2 separate regions of the Homo sapiens genome follow, and region 1 is linked to region 2. The links are contacts of gene promoters, found by promoter capture Hi-C in blood cells and fetal thymus (Javierre and others, 2016). All regions are on one chromosome and are shown on one strand. Each heading gives the region's core, a stretch centred on a gene start or on the middle of the fragment in contact. The rest is flanking DNA. Distances are from core to core; before and after follow the strand shown. Region 1 holds the start of PAFAH1B2 (platelet activating factor acetylhydrolase 1b catalytic subunit 2). Region 2 holds the start of MCAM (melanoma cell adhesion molecule).

Region 1 (5,885 bases), core at 261-2,760, 2.2 Mb after region 2:
GAAAGTTGAACCAAGAATTAAAAGATTTAGAGTTTCCACTCAGACCTAAGACTCTCCACTTTGTTTCAGAGGGAGTGGGTATGGTTATTCTGAAGAAGAAGGCGGCCCTTATCCTGAATGCCCGGTAGCCTCCGTGGGCTGGTGGGTGGTTCCTCCGGTCCAGCACCTCCATAATTTATGATCAAATGCCCAAGCCAACAAACTAATCCTCCCCTTCTCCCCCACAAGGAGGCAACCTTTATGTCAGAACAATGTGCCCAGAAGAAGCCAAAGACACAAGGCACATCCAAGGCAAAGACAATCTTAATTAAGCACTTTCTCCTTCCACTTTCTCCACACCTTTACCCCCGGCCCAACCCCTTCCCATAATTTCAAGCTGTACAAAATGAGGTCCTAGGGTGGATCCGGGTGGTCTTTCCTTTCTCTACGGGTAAGCTCTACAAAGAGGCGAAAGCTCCGAGTGTTAGTTCTTGTTTGTGTATAAATTCTGAAAAGCAACGCTGGCCTGCGAGCTATGAAAAGCAGAAGCATGAGTCACCACGCAACGGGTCAATCAAACCTGTAGACCAGAAGGCACGGATCTGGCAAACGGACGGTGAGCCAGGAAAAAAACATCCCCCCAAACCTCTCCGCTGACAGGTTTATCTAGCTGGCTGACCTTGGGCAGGTCACCAGCCGCTCCGAGCACATTCATGTCTAAGATGAGATGGGGGCTGGAAAGCCTTCCAAGAAATAATCCCTTCCGAGTGGTGACGGTCTATGCAACTTTTGAATAAACACATCCTAAGAGGCAACGGAGAAGTTTCTAAAGAGTTGAAATTTTTCAACAAAAGGAGGAGGGAAAAGTGCTCGGTAAAAACACAACGGAGTAACTGGTTTTGGCCTCCGACCAGACGCGAGGGGAGAGAAGAGTGAGAAGTTAGACCCCTGTGATAAAGGGAAAAGGCAGCAGCGGAGACCCGGGCAGGAGCTGCAGCGCCCAGCCGGGGCGAGCTGGGGTGCGCAAGGCCTACCGCGGGTGGGCCCGGCAGGGCAGGGCAGGGCAGGGCGGGGCGGGGCGCCCGCCGCGCTACCCTCCTGGGAAAGGCCGTGGAGGCGCCGGCCGGCGGCTGAGGAGAAACGCCAGCTTTCGGTATGGAATATCGGGAAAGGGCTCTCAGAGCGAAAACTAGCTGCGCCGGCTGCTGGGAAGCCGACGCTGGGCCCGCAGAGAAGGCGCGCGCTCGCGAGGCCCCCCCCAAGTGGATGGGGCGGCGTGGGGGGAGGGGCCGCAAGGGTGGGGGAGGGGAGGTCGCGGGCCTCTCACAATAACACCTCGCAGCCCCTTCCGACCCCCGCCTCTAAGCCACCGGTTCCCTGCGACCCTGGATGCACTCACTGAAGTAGAGGGTCCGTGCGGGCCCCAAGCGGCTGAGGCGTCGGCGGGTGGCGCGTCGGTCGCTCGCTCGGTCCCGTCGGTCCCGCTCCGGCGCGTCCCTCCTCCGGCCCCAGCACCAGCAGCAGCTCCTCCACTTCCGGTTCCCCTGCCACTCAGCCAAATGGCTTCCGGAAGTCCCGCCCCCATCCTGCCACGCCTCAGCGTGGTTCCTCTCTCCCCGCCTTCGCTCTCCCGGGCGCTGGCGGCGTGCGCCCAGGTGTCCCGCCACACCCCGTTGGGTACCCTGCTTTGTTCTCGCGGTTACCCCCATTTTGTGTGGCGTCTGAGGGACATGGGCTTCTCTCTTTACTCCAGCTGCATCTCTCAATCCTGCGTTCGTGCCACCGCAGTGTGGAGCTGGCATTCGGGACGATGTGGCGTGAAGTCACACTGACGCCATTCCCTTCACACTCAGCCAACTTGGCTTCCTCTTCCACCCATGGAATAAACCAGACTGCTGAAAGTGGGAGGGAAATAGCGGACCAAGGTTAAGGAGGCAGTACCTGACATTTATTAGTGGAATTTCTGTTTCTATGATGAATGTGGAGATTTTGGGTGACCGCCTGTAAAGGTGATACATAGGGGGATGACGAACCCCAGGCTTTTCCTTAAAAGATACATCCAGTTTAGGGGAAGACATACATATACAAAGTCAATATTGAAAAGATTATATGCTAAATAAATGCAGGATCTATAAAAGTAGAGAGGAGGGGCAAGAGATGTGCTCAAGCTTATAGCAGCGCAACGGTTGCTGGAGCAGTGCCCTGAACTGGCCCTTTAAGGATCTCAGCTCTATGCTGGTGAATAGGCAGAGCCTTCCAGGGCTCTTAAACTGATGCGGGGGTGGGGGTTGATTTTGCTGACAAAACCTGTTAAGAATACTGTAAAATCCTGGGAGCCTAAAATGTCAAGATATGTCAAGTAATTTTTCTTTTTTTTTTTTTTTTTTATTCAAGTTCTAGGGTACATGTGCACAACGTGCAGGTTTGTTACATAGGTATACGTGTGCCATGTTGGTTTGCTGCACCCATCAACTCGTCATTTACATTCCGTATTTCTCCTAATGCTATCCCTCCCCCAGCCCCGCAGTCCCCGACAGGCCCCCGTGTGTGATGTTCCCCGCCCTTTGTCCAAGTGTTCTCAGTGTTCAATTCCCACCTATGAGAACATGCGGTGTTTGGTTTTCTGTCCTTGTGATAGTTTGCTGAGAATGATGGTTTCCAGTTTCGTCCATGTCCCTGCAAAGGATATGAACTCATCCTTTTTACAGCTGCATAGTATTTCGTGGTGTATATGTGCCACATTTTCTTAATCCAGTCTATCATTGATGGACATTTGGGTTGGTTCCAAGTCTTTGCTATTGTGAATAGTGCCACAATAAACATACGTGTGCATGTATCTTTATAGCAGCATGATTTATAATCCTTTGGGTATATACCCAGTAATGGGATGGCTGGGTCAAATGGTATTTCTAGTTCTAGATCCTTGAGGAATCGCCACACTGTCTTTCACAATGGTTGAATTAATTTACACTCCCTCCAACAGTGTAAAAGTGTTCCTCTTTCTCCACATCCTCTCCAGCATCTGTTGTTTCCTGACTTTTTAATGATCGCCATTCTAACTGGCATGAGATGGTATCTCATTGTGGTTTTGATTTGCATTTCTCTGATGACCAGTGATGATGAGCATTTTTTCATGTGTCTGTTGGTTGCATAAATGTCTTCTTTTGAGAAGTGTCTGTTCATATCCTTTGCCCACTTTTTGATGGGGTTGTTTGTTTTTTTTCTTGTAAATTTGTTTAAGTTCTTTGTAGATTCTGGATATTAGCCCTTTGTCAGATGGGTAGATTGCAAAAATTTTCTCCCATTCTGTAGGTTGCCTGTTCGCTCTGATGGTAGTTTCTTTTGCCATGCAGAAGCTCTTTAGTTTAATTATATCCCATTTGTCTATTCTGGCTTTTGTTGCCATTGCTTGTGGTGTTTTAGTCAGGAAGTCTTTGCCCATGCCTATGTCCTGAATGGTATTGCCTATGTTTTCTTCTAGGGTTTTTATGGTTTTAGGTCTAACATTTAAGTCTTTACTCCATCTTGAATTAATTTTTGTATAAGGTGTAAGGAAGGGATCCAGTTTCAGCTTTCTACATATGGCTAGCCAGTTTTCCTGGCACCATTTATTAAATAGGGAATCCTTTCCCCATTTCTTGTTTTTGTCAATTTGTCAAAGAGCAGATGGTTGTAGATGTGTGGTGTTATTTCTGAGGCCTCTGTTCTGTTCTGTTGGTCTATATATCTGTTTTGGTGCTAGTACCATGCCGTTTTGGTTACTGTAGCCTTGTAGTATAGTTTGAAGTCAGGTAGCGTGGTGCCTCCAGCTTTGTTCTTTTTGCTTAGGATTGTCTTGGCAATGCGGGCTCTTTTTTGGTTCCATATGAAGTTTAAAGTAGTTTTTTCCAATTCTGTGAAGAAAGTCTTTGGTAGCTTGATGGGGATGGCATTGAATCTATAAATTACCTTGGGCAGTATGGCCATTTTCACAATACTGATTCTTCCTATCCATGAGCATGGAATGTTCTTCCATTTGTTTGTGTCCTCTTTTATTTCACTGAGCAGTGGTTTGTAGTTCTCCTTGACGAGGTCCTTCACATCCCTTGTAAGTTGGATTCCTAGGTATTTTATTCTCTTTGTAGCAATTGTGAATGGGAGTTCACTCATGATTTGGCTCTCTGTTATTGTCTGTTATTGGTGTATAGGAGTGCTTGTGATTTTTGCACATTGATTTTGTATCCTGAGACTTTGCTGAAGTTGCTTATCAGCTTAAGGAGATCTTGGGCTGAGACAATGGGGTTTTCTAAATATACAATCATGTCATCTGCAAACAGGGAAAATTTGACTTCCTCTTTTCCTAATTGAATACCCTTTATTTCTTTCTCTTGCCTGATTGCCCTGGCCAGAACCTCCAACACTATGTTGAATAGGAGTGGTGAGAGAGGGCATCCTTGTCTTGTGCTGGTTTTCAAAGGGAATGCTTCCCGTTTTTGCCCATTCAGTATGATATTGGCTGTGGGTTTGTCATAAATAGCTCTTACTATTTTGAGATACGTTCCATCAATACCTAGTTTATTGCGAGCTTTTAGCATGAAGGGCTGCTGAATTTTGTCGAAGGCCTTTTCTGCATTGATATAATCATGTGGTTTTTGTCATTGGTTTTGTTTATGTGATGGATTACGTTTATCAATTTGTGTATGTTGAACCAGCCTTGCATCCCAGGGATGAACCCAACTTGATTGTGGTGGATAAGCTTTTTGATGTGCCACTGGATTCGGTTTGCCAGTATTTTATTGAGAATTTTCACATCAATGTTCATCAGGCGTATTGGCCTAAAATTCTCTTTTTTGTTATGTCTCTGCCGGGCATTAGTATCAGGATGATGCTGGCCTCATAAAATGAGTTAGGGAGTCTCTTTTTTTCTATTGATTGGAATAGTTTCAGAAGGAATGGTACCAGCTCCTCTTTGTAGCTCTAATAGAATTCGGCTGTGAATCTGTCTGGTCCTGGATTTTTTTTTGGTTGGTAGGCTATTAATTATTGTCTCAATTTCAGAGCCTGTTATTGGTCTATTCAGAGATTCAACTTCTTCCTGGTTTAGTCTTGGGAAGGTGTATGTGTCCAGGAATTTATCCATTTCTTCTAGATTTTCTAGTTTATTTGCGTAGAGGTGTTTATATCATTCTCTGGCGGTAGTTTGTATTTTTGTGGGATTGGTGGTGATATCCCCTTTATCATCTTTTATTGCATCTATTTGATTATTCTCTCTTTTCTTCTTTATTAGTCTTGCCAGCGGTCTATCAATTTTGTTGATCTTTTCAAAACACCAGCTCCTGGATTCATTGATTTTTTGAAGGGTTTTTTGTGTCTCTATCTCCTTCAGTTCTGCTCTGATCTTAGTTATTTCTTGCCTTCTGCTAGCTTTTGAATGTATTTGCTCTTGCTTCTCTAGTTCTTTTAATTGTGATGTTAGGGTGTTGATTTTAGATCTTTCCTGCCTTCTCTTGTGGGCATTTAGTGCTGTAAATTTCCCTCTATGCACTGCTTTAAATATGTCCCAGAGATTCTGGTACGTTGTGTCTTTGTTCTCATTGCTTTCAAAGAACATCATTATTTCTGCCTTCATTTTATTATTTACCCAGTAGTCATTCAGGAGCAGGTTGTTCAGTTTCCATGTAATTGTGCGGTTTTGAGTGAGTTTCTTAATCCTGAGTTCTAATTTGATTGCACTGTGGTCTGAGAGACAGTTTGTTGTGATTTATGTTATTTTACATTTGCTGAAGAGTGCTTTACTTCCAATTATGTGGTCCATTTTAGAATAAGTGTGATGTGGTGCTGAGAAGAGTGTATATTCTGTTGATTTGGGGTGGAGAGTTCTGTAGATGTCTATTAGGTCTGCTTGGTGCAGAGCTGAGTTCAAGTCC
Region 2 (5,857 bases), core at 3,298-5,797:
GACGACTCAAAGTCAGATTTGAAGAGCTCTCTGGGGACATTCCTCTCCCTGGATGGTGGTATTCTGGGGAGCGGATGTGAACTTCCCTGAAGGGGAGAGGTGTAAACTCCCAGCATCCTGCTACCACCCTCCGCCCCCATCACCCTTCATTCCCCAGGTGCAGGCTGGGGGCAGAGGAGAGGGAAGGGGATTAGGTGCTGGGGCCGGGGAACCGAGACCCAGGGTGTCACCGCTGACAGCAGCGGGGCCCGCAGAGCTGCAGGGAGACAGAGCCGCCTCCCCGCGGCGCCGACGCTGCCATCTAGCTAGAGGGCCCCACTCTTTCTTTAACCAGAGGTCACAGCCTCATTGCCTACCCAGGAGGCAGCCCCGAGACGCCCCCTGCGGCCTGGGTTTTCTCCACCCTGTCCCCGCGCCCACCCCAGCTCTGCCATCCCCGGCTGCACCGCTTTGTAAAGGGGACGGCTGGTCAGACCGAATCACTGCGCGGGCTCGCGCTGGGTCGGGCCTGGAGACTGGATCTGGGGCTTCCGGAGAGCCCCAGGCTCCCCGCGCGCCCATCCACCCGCAGCCGCCTGAGCATTTATGGTAATGTTTGGGTTGGGGCGAGCGGCCGGATCCCCGCCCCCTGCCTCCGCCGGGCGGGACCTCGAGGCCGGCTCCTGGGGAGCTTAGCGCCGGCGCCTTCCCGCCGCGGCCGGGTCCCCTGGGTGGAGGCCCTGGGTGCCGGAGGCCTGAGGTCCGGCAGGTGGGCTGGCCCCCGTGCGGAGGCTCCTAAGACCGGGGGGTACGAGAGGGACAGTCCCAGTCGGTCGGAGGAGGGGTCCGCGGGGTTGGGGACTCCGATCCCGCTCAACCTACCCTAACCACCCACTGCTGCCCACCCAACCCCCGCCTCTGGCTTAAGAGTCCATCATCCCCAGGAGGAGTCCCGATGCATCCACATCCTCTTTCTCCTTCTCTCCCCCCACCCCCTGGCAGGGAAGGGGCTGAGGGAAGAGGCCAGCAGCTCTCAGGGGAGTCGTCGGAATGCTGGGAGCCTGGGAACAGACCCTGCGGTCCCTGGGAAAGCCAGGCTGTGGGAATCCCACCGTCAGCCCCCTCCCCAGGATGGGCCACCGGATGTCAGAGACCCCAGTTCCCCAACGGGGATCTTTGTGAGGGTGGGCCCTGCCCCCCAGTTCAAGCCCCAGCCTGGCTCGACCCCAGAGTTCAGTAGGCCATCTGTGACGAAGACAGCCCCTCCCCCGCTCTCCGCCCTCCACCCCCCTGCCTGCTCCAACATAATCCTCGCCATTGTGCCCGTCGCCCCCTCCCCCCGCTCCCCCTCTCTAGACCCCTGTACAATGGGGCCTTTGCAGCCTCCAGAATGGAGATGAACTCACGGTTTTTCCAAGTTTAAAAATAGCCCCTCCCATCCCGCAGAAGGCCACCCTCCCTCTCTCCCATGGTGGTGTGGGGTGCACCTCCATCCCGGCTGTGCCTCCTTCCTCCTGCCCTGGGTCAGGTGCGAAGGACATGGGTGAGACAGCATCCGGCGGGAGCAGGGCTGCTTCCCCCGATTCAATCTCTTCCCCCACATCTTCCATCCACCCCCCAGTACAGTATCCGGTTTCCTGCCCCCTACCCTTTTCCACCCTGTTTTCACTCCTTCAGTATAATCTTCTCCTACTCACACCCACATTCTGGAAAAATTCTCCAACTTCCGCACCCCCTCCAAAGACCCAGGCCGGATCCTATTATCTGGCCTGGCCAGGGGGTTCCCCAGTCTCGGTAACTGCCAAGATTGTTGGGACTCCCACCCCATGTCCTCACAGCAGCTGCAAACACCTCTTTATCAGCTTCCTTCCTCGAGCTACTTCTGACCCACCCTTCTCATATCCTCACATCCTGGTCAAGGCCCCTGGATCCAGAAGGGTGGGTCAGAAGTCGCTAAGTTCCCTTTGCTGGAGCTGAGAGAGGACACTTGGGTTCCAGTCTTGCCCCTTCATGGCCTCTGGGGACAGGTCCATCCTTGTCTTTTTACCTCCAACTCCCCAGGGTTCCACTTCTCCTTACAATGAGCTGAAAGCTCCACCCATCCAGGAGACTGTGGCTGAGGAGCCCAACCAGGACCCCCACCCCACCTGGCCTCAGTTTCTCCACCTGTGGTCAGACCTATACCAGAGACACGCAGAGGGCATTATGCGCAGGAGGGTCCCCTCATGTGTGAGGGGCCCAGGTCCACCATGGGGCTGGAGGAAAGCAGCCTTCTTGCCTGCAACCCAACGAGGGAAAAAAGAAGAATTAGGACTCTGCCCCCAGGGCCTCTTCTGGCCCTGGCCTACATCTGAGCCAGGCTCTTCCAACCCAGTCCAGGTGCTGGGTCCCTGCAGGGTAGACGGCCGTGGCCTCCTCCTCCAACTCCCTTCTGCTGGCTGTCACTCCTGTCCTGCTGGAAGTCCCGCAGCCACCTTCTCTCCCCTGGGGCTGCCGGAGCACTAGCCTCTGGCCTCTAAGAAGAGCTGAGGGCTGATCCCCTTCACCTTCCGCTCCCTCCACCCTGCTCCCTGCCTCCACTCCTGCGTCCTTTCCGAGGTCCTGACCCGTCTTTAGTTTGGAATCCCAAAGTGCCCACCTCATGAAACCATCCCAAAGCTATCTGTCCCCTGAGGCTATGACCCACTTCCGAGCAGCCTAGACAGCCCCAGGCTACTGGCTTCCTTAAAGGACAGTCTTCTGTGCTTGTTTGGTGGGGCAATGCGAAGGGACGTCACCCTGGGCTCTAGGCTCTGACCTCATTTCCCTTTCACCGCAGAGACAAATCCTCCACCCCCACCTGGCTTCACTCTCCTCCAGCGGAAGAAGAATTCAGAACTGACTGTCCTTGGTGGTTAGCTGGCTTTGTTTTCAGGCCAGAGAGGCGAATGATTAGTTAATGGTGTTAAGTGAAGGAAGGGGGTTGGGCAGGGAAGCCAGCTCCATGCCCAGCCGGGCCTGCCAGGGCAAACGGCATCCTTCAGCCATTCCCACTCCAGCCCAGCAGACAAAACATTCTCATCTAGTCAGCTCTGGGCCTGGGGCCAGTCCATACATTCACTCTGGAGGGCGAGCCAGCGTCCTCCTCTTGTTCTCCCTGCAGGCTCCAGGCTCCAGGCCCCTGGCCCGGTGGGCCTGGGCTCTGCACAGCCTCTGGCTGGAGACTAATGGCATTGGAGGAGGGGTCGAGAAGGCTCTGAAAGACAAGCCTGGTGTGGTTTTCCAGTCATCTCTGCGTCATCAAAACGCCACCCCGGAGCATGCTCTCAAGTCACCTGGCCATCTCCAGGGTTTGCTGGCTCACCCTCCACCTCCCCCAGCGAGCAAAGGGGTGGCCCCGCTGGGCAACAGACCTCTACCCAAATCCAGGCCCCTATTTGGCACTCCCTGGTGGAGGCGCGCCAGCAGATGTGGACCCCTTTTCTGAGGCCAGGCTGCTGGGGTCAGAGTGAGGCAAGAGCACCTCCCCCTCCCTAGAGCCTTAGTTCAAGAGGCCAGAAGACCCAGGGAGAAGCCGGCGTTTTGGGAGAAGGGGAGCTGCAGAGCTCCCCACCCAAGCAGGTCTGATTTGATTCTTCCCTCAGCTATGGACCCACAATCAATAGGGCTGGGGAAGACATGGGGTGGGGGAAGATCAGCGCTGCCGGGATCCTTTCAATCATCAGGAACAGCAACAGGTTTGCAGGGTCAGGCTGGGGACCCTCGCCCATTAACTCTTTCTTCTCCCTGTTTCTTTCTCTTAGGTGAGGGGAAACTGAGTTCCAGGGTAGGCTCCAGAGTGAAGAGGGAAGAAACATGATTCTCAAGGCCCAGGTCTGGACAAGTGTGAACACCTTGGGCCTGCGAATTCAGCCCCCTCCTTCCTTTCTCTGGTCAAAGGCTAGACTTGCAGGAGCTTGCGTTTGAAGGGACAGCCCAGAAGGCATCGTCTGCACTCCCCATACAGGTACTTCTGGGTCTGTGGGACTGGCGCAGGGTTCTTCTCCCAAAGCTGCCAGCACTGAGGCTGAGGCAGTGTCAGGCCGGCGGCAGCGGCAGTGGTGCAATCGTTCTGGGAAGCGATAGAGGCCGGCCTGAATTCTCTGTGGCAAGGGAGGGGAGCCCAAGTGGGAGGCCCCTTGGGGACACCGAGGACCAGGTCCGCTACTGCTCCTCCCCCAGGAGGTCCCCTAGGGGCTACATTGGCTGGCAGGGGCTGAGCAGCGGTGAGCCTGGCTGGCTTCGACCCGGGGCGACTCCGGGCATCCGGGACAGCTTCTCCTCGCTGCCACCTCGGCCAGTCAGACCCCGAGACACCTGTCACTACCCCCTCAGCCTTCCCAAGCCAGGAGCCTGGGAGTCCGGCTCTGGCCTACCTCCGGCAGCGCTCCTAGGCGCAGCTCCCGGGCTGGCGGCGCCGGGGCCCGCCCCCTAGGGCTGCGGCGCGCGGGGCGGGGGCTGGGGGCTGCGCGGGGCGGGGCGGGCCCGGGCGCTCCGGGCCCCCTCCCCCGCCCCCCTGACGTCAGCCCCCGGCAGCCTCGAGCTGCTCACTTGGCTCTCGCCCTCCGGCCGGGAAGCATGGGGCTTCCCAGGCTGGTCTGCGCCTTCTTGCTCGCCGCCTGCTGCTGCTGTCCTCGCGTCGCGGGTGAGTTCGCTCGCAGGGGGGCCGCGCCCCGGCTAGGGGTCTGCGGTGGAGCGTGCCAGGGAGCAGAGCCAGCGGCGCGGCGGGGTCGGGGCGTTGCGTCTGGGAGGACGAGCCTCCTCCCTGGGTCCCCGATCCCCGGGCGCCTTGCGCGCGAGCAACTCTTCTTTGCAGCCAGTTTGCAGCCGGGATTCTAGAGTATCCCGGGAGCAGCACTCGGAAGGCGGGGAGGAGGCTGCTTCTGGGAACGAGAAGGGGTGGAGCTCAGCCTTTCGGGGTGCTGGGGGGTGGGTGGTCCCTGAGGTGCTCACTCTGGGGGCCCGCAATTGAAGCCGGGCAGGAGGCGCAGCTGGGGCGCATCCTCAAAGCCTGAATTCCGCGCCCGCCTGTTGCTGGAAAAGGCAGCTTCCTTCGCTGGAGGGGGTGCGCCGACCCACCCCTTCCCCCTTCTGCCTGGGCATCACGCCAGGCTGGAGGTGAGCGAGAGCGGGAGGTTCGGCGGCTCCCGCCCGAGCTGGGCGTTGGCAGGGGTTGCGGGGCGGTGTGGGTCGCCTCGCGCCTCCCCGAGTGATGGGATCATAGGGGACAGAGATGAGGGATGGAGGATTCCCATACTGGAAGCGCCCGCTGGCTTATTTTGGGGACCACATTCAGGTGGGAAGTGCGCCCGGGCACCTCGGAGCGTTTCTCCGGATCCGCCTGGTAGCAGGGCGCTCTCGGGTCCACGCTGCCCTTGTATGGCCCGCAGCGGTGTCGCGTGTTTCTCTTGGCTCCCATTCCGCCGTCCCAGCCGCTGTCCGGCTGGGGAAGGGGAGGGCTAGGCAATACCCAGCTCGCTGGCCTCATGCCCAGTGCCAACCATGTCCCTGGGGTATTCCAGGCTACTGCCTCCCAGGCTGACTTTATTTCTGGGGAAAGGGCTAAATCGGGCTCCACAGTTGCAGCCGGTCCAGCTCCACCCTGCCCTGCTCTTCTAGCTCTGGGAGGAGTCAGGGGTCTGAGGCTCTGGGTTGGAGACCCCACCTTCCACCTGCCCTCCTTGTCCGAGAGCCAAGGTAACAACCCAGGCATCCCAGAGCCCAGGCAGATGGTGTCGAGTGACATCACCTCCTCACAGGGCTGGCAGCACGCTGGCACCACTGACGTCACTCCTGCCCACTGCCTGGCCCTTGCCCTGACCCCTGGGGGAGACTCTGACCTCTCCATCCTTACCAGCTA

Evidence for each region. The method cuts DNA at HindIII sites, captures the fragments that hold promoters and counts their contacts. A CHiCAGO score of 5 or more calls a contact.
Region 1: a contact is called between the fragment with the promoter of PAFAH1B2 here and the fragment with the promoter of MCAM in region 2, in 1 of 17 cell types (activated CD4 T cells). The highest score is 5.4, in activated CD4 T cells.

What each region holds. Positions count from the first base shown.
Region 1 is chr11:117,139,912-117,145,796 of GRCh38, reverse strand. It overlaps PAFAH1B2 (platelet activating factor acetylhydrolase 1b catalytic subunit 2), which reads right to left and starts at 1,510. Exons shown (of 6, transcript NM_002572.4): 1 at 1,379-1,510. RefSeq lists an enhancer at 251-430 and a silencer at 981-1,300. The HindIII fragment of the contact is 2,379 bases long and covers 1-2,149 here.
Region 2 is chr11:119,315,820-119,321,676 of GRCh38, reverse strand. MCAM (melanoma cell adhesion molecule) reads left to right here and starts at 4,547. Exons shown (of 16, transcript NM_006500.3): 1 at 4,547-4,642. The coding sequence starts at 4,576. RefSeq lists enhancers at 1-338, 339-964, 2,918-2,967 and silencers at 401-840, 4,209-4,268. The HindIII fragment of the contact is 17,882 bases long and covers 1-5,857 here.